Regions from separate parts of the Homo sapiens genome. Here all the other regions are linked to region 1. Evidence: promoter capture Hi-C in human tissues and cell types (Jung and others, 2019). All regions are on one chromosome and are shown on one strand. Each heading gives the region's core, a stretch centred on a gene start or on the middle of the fragment in contact. The rest is flanking DNA. Distances are from core to core; before and after follow the strand shown. Region 1 holds the start of RBX1 (ring-box 1). Region 2 has its middle 11 kb from the start of MRTFA. Region 3 has its middle 7.4 kb from the start of MCHR1.

Region 1 (2,540 bases), core at 29-2,528:
AGATAATAATTCCAGTAAGAGTTTAACAGAATTTCATTCATTCAACTCTGGCTTCCTCAATTACAAATACTCCCAAACCTTCTTCGCTTTCAAACCCCATTCTCAGTGCCTAGTAACTTCTTTACCACTTTTCACATCACAGCTTCAAGGTGGAGGAAAAGCCCCTACTTCTATTATTTTTCAATATGGCTGCTGGCTGTAACTGAGCAGCAGTGGCCACAATGAGACACCAAAAAGCACTAGGACGGGGGATATTGTCAGTGTTTAGCCAGATGTTCTAGGAATATCTTCCCTATTTTAGAATCTCCATTTTGAACAGCTTTCATGTTAGGTGAGAATCGATACTGTTCTCCCAAACTGTGGCAAACCACTAAAAGGCATTTCATGCAAAAAGACACGTTCCATTTTTGCTTTCCCACGCTTACCAAGTCGTTCGCGACTAGTACTCAACCCTCCCTAACTGCCACAGGATTTGGGCTCGGATTTTCTTAACAAGTTCCACCATGCTTTTTATTATTATTTTGGAAGGGGGAGATTCTGGACGTGACAGAGAACCCAAGAGTGGGGTGGTTGTGTGAAAAGCCAACAGACGTCTCAGAAGAGCCAAGCATTACACTCCAGACTCTAACCAGGCAGTGTGAGGCCTCGGTTCAGCGAGGATCCCTCCAAGTGAGAGGACCCCTCCAAGTGAGAGGACCCCAAGCTTCAAAAAGGGGCGGAGCAAGATCACCAAGGGGGGTCCTCAGAGGCCTCTAATGCGGTAGGACCTCAGGTTCCAGGCTCTCGCCGCACTGCCCCATCCTCCACCGCCGCATTCGCTTCGACTCCCCATTCCACCCACCCCACCCCACCCTACCCTGTCCTTCCCCCACCTCTCAACCACTCCAGTGACAGCTCAAGCGCTTGGCTCCCGCCGCCAAGTCGCAACCCCGCGTATCTCAATAAGCAGCTCTGTGATTGGCCCCTTAGCCTCACAGCGAAACCAACACTTCCCCCAACAGTGGGCCGCCGTCACGCCGATCAACTCTAAGACCCGCCCCCCGGCTTCCTTTCGTGGTACCCGGTCCCAGGAACGCCCTGAAATGAAACCCTTTACTCCGCGCCTCGACCATCCTCGGGCCTGCCAGCCAGATCCGCGCCTCTCTAGCTTCCCTGAGGAAGGCGCTGGCGAGACCCAACCTTTTTCACTTCAAAGCGCTTCTTGCCCGCGCCGCTGTTGGTGCCGCTCGGGGTATCCACATCCATCGCTGCCGCCATTTTGGAAACACACGGTCTGTCGTCCGACCACCGCGCCTGCGCAGCAGCGCACACTTCGCTCCCCCCACCTCCCCGGCACCTCCTCCCGCACCCCACCCCTTACTGGCGCGCGAGGCGGAGGTGGGGGCGGAGCACGTGACCACGCCTCTTAAAGGGGCTGTCGCAGGTCGCCCCACCCGCGAACTGTAGGCCGGGGAGGGGGCGGTGGCCGGAGTGGGTGGGGCGGGGCCGGGCGGGGCCGGGCGGGGCCGAGGCTACGTGAGCTAGCCGGGTGGAAACGTTCGAAAGGGCTCGACGTCGCCGCCTCCTCTGGGAAGCCCCCGGCCGCACTCCGTCAGCTGGGGCGGCGGCTGCTTCCTCCGCCTGAGCCAGACCTGCGCCGCAGTCCTGTCCTGCCTGCCGGGCTCGCCGAGTCGCCGCGCGGCTCCCGGTGCTGGCGTGGGTGGGCGCCCGCGGCCTGCCCCGAAACCCAAGAGTCCTCGCTGGTCTTTCGCAGACTCTGACCCGCTTCCGAGCCAGGCCCAAGGTGCAGTCCCCGTGGGAGGGCTGGGGCCCAGGCACCGTCTGGTCTCCGATTTCTGTTCGGGAACTGCTCAGGGATTCGATGGGGAGAGAGGAGACCCCCGAAGTTCCTCCCTAAGGCCACACTGAGCAGGCCCCCAGCCCTGCCTTTACTCGCCCGCCAAGCCTGGGGGGTGGCCTCTGCGCCCACATAGTCGCAGTCCTAGGACCGCCTTTGGTCGTGGTGCACGGTTTCACCGTAACGTGTGTCAGTCCCCACTCCGCATTCCTCAGTTGTCATCTTTGTAGGGTGATTTCTCCCCGATCTGTGTCCTTTTTCCGCTGCTTGTGCTGTAGTGAAACCGACCCATCTGCAGTCGCTGTATTTCTTGAATTTTTGTGAGGCATTCTTTTTTAACTCTTGTTGCCCAGGCTGGAGTGTAATGGCGCGATTTCGGCCCACTGCAACCTCCGCCTCCAGGATTCAAGCGATTCTCCTGCCTCAGCCTCCCGAGTAGCTGAGATTACAGGCGCCCGCCACCACGCCCGGCTAATTTTTTGTATTTTTAGTAGAAACGGGGTTTCACCACGTTAGCCAGGCTGGTCCCGAACTCCTGACCTCAGGTGATCCGCCTGCCTCGGCCTCCCAAAGTGCTAGAGCCGCTTTTTTTTTTTTTCTTTTTTAATTTTTTTAAAAAATAGAGACAAGGTCTCACTATGTTGCCTAGGCTGGTCTCGAACTCCTGGGCCCAAGTGATCCTCCCACTTCGGCCTCCCAAAGT
Region 2 (2,540 bases), core at 25-2,524, 300 kb after region 1:
TGGGCTCCCAAAGTGCTAGGATTACAGGTATGAGCCACTGCACTGGGCCAAAGAATTTTTTTTTTTCTGAATAAATAAACAATGCTTCCTCTGAAGGGAGTTCCAGTGAACACAATTTTCTCCATCTCATTACAATGAGGTTTAGGCCACAGCTATAAGTTCTCTGTTGTCATTCTCTGTATTCACCCCAACACTCCGTAAAGTGTGGGACACACCACGGTGTGGGAAAATAGAGACCCAAGATGAGAAAGGAAAGCAAGTACCTCTGGCCTGGTGTTGTGGGAAGGAAGAAGCACACCTTGAGGGGACAGGCCAGGGGTCCAGGTACTGACCCACACCAAAGCACAGCGTGGTCCCAAGCAGCTGGGAGTGAGGGGACGCACGTAGACAGTGAAGACCCAGGATAGACGGGAAAGGAACTTCTACTTTTCTTTCCTTTTTTTTTTTTTTTTTTTTTTGAGACAGAGTCTTGCTCTGTCGCCCAGGCTAGAGTGCAATGGCGCGATCTCGGCTCATTGCAGCCTTCACCTCCCAGGGTTCAAGCGATTCTCCTGCCTCAGCCTCCAGAGTAGCTAGGATTACAGGCACACGCCACCATGCCTGGCTAATTTTTGTATTTTTAGTAGAGACGAAGTTTCACCATGTTGGCCAGGCTGGTCTCGAACTCCTCACCTCATGATCTGCCCACCTCAGCCACCCAGAGTACTGGGATTACAGACATAAGCCACCGCGCCCAGCTAGAACTTCCACTTTTTCACTGCATGTCAGTGACCGCTGAGCCCCGCAGCGGTGCAAGGGCAGGTGTTGACTTGCGATCTGTATGGTTACTCCTAATTTACAGGTGACGAGATTGAAACTCAGGGACACAGTCTATTTCCTAAGGTCACATGGCTCGGGGCAGAGCCAGGCTTTGAAACCACACCTGCTTTTCCACTGAGTTGCTCTGCCCCTCTTCTCTGTGAGTTTCTTGTAAGGTATTTGTTGTATGACTGCTATCATGAGGCACATTTTATTCACCTGTCGGGAGCTGGTACCATTAGTGTAATATAATCATTCAGTTTGACTCTCATCAGTGTTTTTGCTGCAGCTGCTGCTGCTTTTTCCACACTCTAGTTTTCCAAAACTCAGGTGCAGTGGGGTATTGAGTCTCCTTGTCCATCCAGGCAAGAAAAAAATAATCACTTCAGAATGAGTAGGTAGGAAGGCAGCACAAACAGACATGTAAAAAAATGACTTCACAGCCGGGCACGGTGGCTCACACCTGTAATCCCAGCACTTTGGAAGGCCAAGGCAGGTGGATCAACATGGTGAAACCCCGTCTCTACTAAAAATCCAAAAATTAGCCGAGCATGGTGGTGCATGCCTGTAATCCCAGCTACTCGGGAGGCTGAGGCAGGAGAATCGCTTGAACTGGGGAGGCAGAGGTTGTGGTGAGCCAAGATCGCACCACTGCACTCCAGCCTTGGTGACTCCATCTCCAAAAAAAAAAGAATGACTTCAGAATGCTGTTCTAATCAGGTAGCATTTTGGTAAGGAGAGAAATCAGTATAACTTGTTCCACCAACTCAAAGTGCAGAGTTCCACATAATTGCTGGAGTCTTTATCACCTCCCCACCCAACTTTGTGATTTGCCCCATATGCTAAGGACTTCAGGCGCTGCTCCATCCAGGGGTTTGAATCATATCATGGGGACTCTGCCCCTGTCTCTTCTATACCCTTCATTGCTCCTTGTTGTTATTTGGTTTCATTTTCAGATGAGATCCGGTGTGTTCAGGGTGATATGGCTGTAGACATGGCCTTCTTTTCTTTCTTTCTTTTTTTTTTTTTGAGAGGGAGTTTCACTCTTGGCACGATCTCGGCCCACTGCAACCTCTGCCTCCCGGGTTCAAGCAATTCTCCAGCCTCAGCCTCCCAAGTAGCTGGGATTACAGGTGCCTGCCACCATGCCTGGCTAATTTTTGTATTTTTAGTAGAGACGGGGTTTCACCATGTTGGCCAGTCTGGTCTGGAACTCCTGACCTCAGGTTATCCGCCGGCCTCGGCCTCTCAAAGTGCTGGGATTACAGGTGTGAGCCACCGCGCCTGGCCTGGGCCTTATTTTCAAATCTCTTCTTGCCTTCTGACAGCTAGATGGCCACCGGCAGCTCCAAGCCTACATTTGTTTTTTTTTGTTTTTTTTTTTTTTTGAGACTAAGTTTCGCTCTATTGCCCAGGCTGGAGTGCAAGTGGTGTGATCTCGGCTCACTGCAACCTCCGCCTCCGGGGTTCAAGTGATTCTCATGCCTCAGCCTCCAGAGTAGCTAGGATTACAGGCGCCCGCCACCACACCCATCTAATTTTTGTATTTGTAGTAGAGACAGGGTTTCACCATGTTGGCCAGGCTGGGATTACAGGCTTGAGCCACCGCGCCTGGCCTAATTTTGATTTTTTGAAATATTGTATTATTTTTCTTAATTGCTAAGTTTTTGGCATCCACTTAAATTTTGTGTCTGATTCTCCTCACCCTAGGCTATAACATCATGGCAAGCTTTTATTTAAGA
Region 3 (2,540 bases), core at 11-2,510, 260 kb after region 1:
TCTTAGTAACAAGTCATGCAGAACCAGTTATTACTAGTTTGAATTGAGTAAAATATAGTTGCTAACAATAACAAAAGAACAACCCAATTTTAAAAATGGGCAAAAGACTTGAATAGACATTTCTCCAAAGAAGAAATACAAATAGTCAGGAAGCACATGACCAGATGCTCAACATTGCTAATCATTAGGGAAATGCGAATCAAAATCACAATGAAACCACTTGAGGCGCATTAGAATGTCTTTTATTTTAAAAAGAAAAAGAAAGTAAGTGTTGATGAGGATGTGGAGAAATGGGAACACTTGCACATTGTTGATGGGAATGTAACATGGTACAGCCACTATGGCAGTTTCTCAAAAAATTGAAAATAGAACTACCATATGATATGACAATTATTTTTTCCTTTTTTTTTTTTTTTTTTTTTTTTTTTTGAGACAGAGTCTCACTCTGCAGCCCAGGCTAGTATGAGTGGCATGATCTCTGTTTACTGCAACCTCCACCTCCCAGATTCAAGTGATTCTCCTGCCTCAGCCTCCCAAGCTGGGATTACAGGCATGTGCCACCATGCCTGTCTAATTTTTGTATTTTTAGTAGAGATGAGGTTTCACCATGTTGGCCAGGCTGGTCTCGAACTCCTGAGCTTAGGCGATCCTCCTGCCTTGGCCTCCCAAAGTGCTGGGATTACAGGCATAAACCACTGTGCCCGGCCCCTGATCTGGCTTTTTTTTTGTTTGTTTTGTTTTGTTTTGTTTTTGAGATGAAGTCTCACTCTGTCGCCCAGGCTGGAGTGCAATGGTGCAATCTCAGCTCACTGCAAACTCCACCTCCCAGATTCAAGTGATTCTCCTGCCTCAGCCTCCCAAGTAGCTGGGACTACAGGCACCCGCCACCATGCCTAGCTAATTTTTTTTTTTTTGAAATGGAGTCTCACTCTGTCGCCCAGGTTGGGGTGCAGTGGCACAATCTCAGCTCACTGCAAGCTCCACCTCCCAGGTTCACGCCATTCTCCTGCCTCAGCATCCCGAGTAGCTGGAACCACAGGCACCCGCCACCATGCCTGGCTAATTTTTTGTATTTTTAGTAGAGACGGGGTTTCACCGTGTTAGCCAGGATGGTCTCGATCTCCTGACCTCGTGATCTGCCTGCCTCGGCCTCCCAAAGTGCTGGGATTACAGGCCTGAGCCACCGTGCCCGGCCTGATCTGGCAATTCTTATGGGTATATGCTGAAAAGAATGGAAAGCACTGACTCCAACAGATAGTTGTGCAGTCAGGTTCACAATAGCCAAAAGGTAGAAACAACAGATGAATGGATAAACAAAATGTGGTATACACATACAATGGAATATTCATTCATCCTTTAAAAGGAGGAAGATTCTGACACATATGACAACGTGGATGAACCTTGAGGACATTATGCCAAGTGAAATAAGCCAGTCACGAAAGAACAAATTCTGTGTGATTCTACTTATATGAGGTTCCTAGAGCAGTCAAATCCAGAGACAGAAAGTAGCCCGGTGGTTGCTGGGAGTTATGGGGACAGAGGAATGGCCAGTTGGTGTTTAATTGGTATGGAATTTCAGTTTGGGAAGATGGAAAAGTTCTGGAGATAGATGGTGGTGAGAGCTGCGCATTAACGTGAATGTATTTCATGCCACTGAATTGTACACTTGAAATTGTTAAAATAGTAAATTTTATGTTAGGTGTATTTTACCACAATAAAAAAGAGGCCGGGCGTGGTGGCTCTTGCCTGTAATCCCACACTTTGGAAGGCCAAGGTGGGCAGATCACCTGAGGTCAGGAGTTCAAGACCAGCCTGGTCAACAGTGTGAAACCCTGTCTCTACCAAAACTACAAAAATTAGCCAGGCGTAGTGGCGCATGCCTGTGATCCCAGCTACTCAGAAGGCTGAGGCAGGAGAATTGCTTGAACCCTGGAGGCAGAGATTGCAGTGAGCTGAGATTGCACCACTGCACTCCAGCCTGGGCATCAGAGCGAGACTCTGTCTCAAAAATAAATAAAAATAAATAAATAAATAAATAAATAAATATGTATATTAGGCCAGGTACAGTGGGTCACACCTGTAATCCCAGCCCTTTGGGACTCTGAGGTGGGCAGATTGCTTGAGCTCAGGAGTTCAAGACCAGCCTGGGCAACATGGTGGAACCCCGTCTCCACCAAAACAAAACAAAAAATAGCTGGGCATAGTGACATGCACCTGTAGTCCCAGCTACTTGGAAGGCTGAAGTTGGGGGAGGATTGCTTGAGTCCAGGAGGTCGAGGCTGCAGTGAGCTGAGATCACACCGCTGTACTCCAGCCTGGGCAACAGAGCCAGATCTTGTCTCAAAATAAATAGATAAATAAAAATAAGTTAATTAATTAAATGAAAACTGATGATTCAGAAAGGAACAAGCAAACACAAACCCAATGCCAGTTGCCGTGTTTGGTGCTCTTCTTGCTTCTCTTGTGAACAGCAATGTGCGGAAGTGGTTCTGTGGACTCACTTGCAACCTAAACTTTGAGGTCAATGTCTCTCAGCTGTG

Evidence for each region. The method cuts DNA at HindIII sites, captures the fragments that hold promoters and counts their contacts. A contact is called where the count stands out against the background at its distance.
Region 2: a contact is called between a fragment that was not itself captured here and the fragment with the promoter of RBX1 in region 1, in 1 of the 25 tissues and cell types used here (hippocampus).
Region 3: a contact is called between a fragment that was not itself captured here and the fragment with the promoter of RBX1 in region 1, in 1 of the 25 tissues and cell types used here (IMR-90 fibroblasts).

Annotation. Positions count from the first base shown.
Region 1 is chr22:40,950,116-40,952,655 of GRCh38, reverse strand. It overlaps RBX1 (ring-box 1), which reads right to left and starts at 1,278. Exons shown (of 5, transcript NM_014248.4): 1 at 1,180-1,278. The coding sequence starts at 1,257. RefSeq lists enhancers at 1-546, 1,002-1,211, 1,726-2,316 and a silencer at 1,262-1,841. The HindIII fragment of the contact is 18,244 bases long and covers 1-2,540 here.
Region 2 is chr22:40,646,896-40,649,435 of GRCh38, reverse strand. No RefSeq gene overlaps it. Among named protein-coding and RNA genes, the nearest start is that of MRTFA, 11 kb to the right of the region's middle. The HindIII fragment of the contact is 3,334 bases long and covers 1-2,540 here.
Region 3 is chr22:40,685,568-40,688,107 of GRCh38, reverse strand. No RefSeq gene overlaps it. Among named protein-coding and RNA genes, the nearest start is that of MCHR1, 7.4 kb to the right of the region's middle. The HindIII fragment of the contact is 4,990 bases long and covers 1-2,540 here.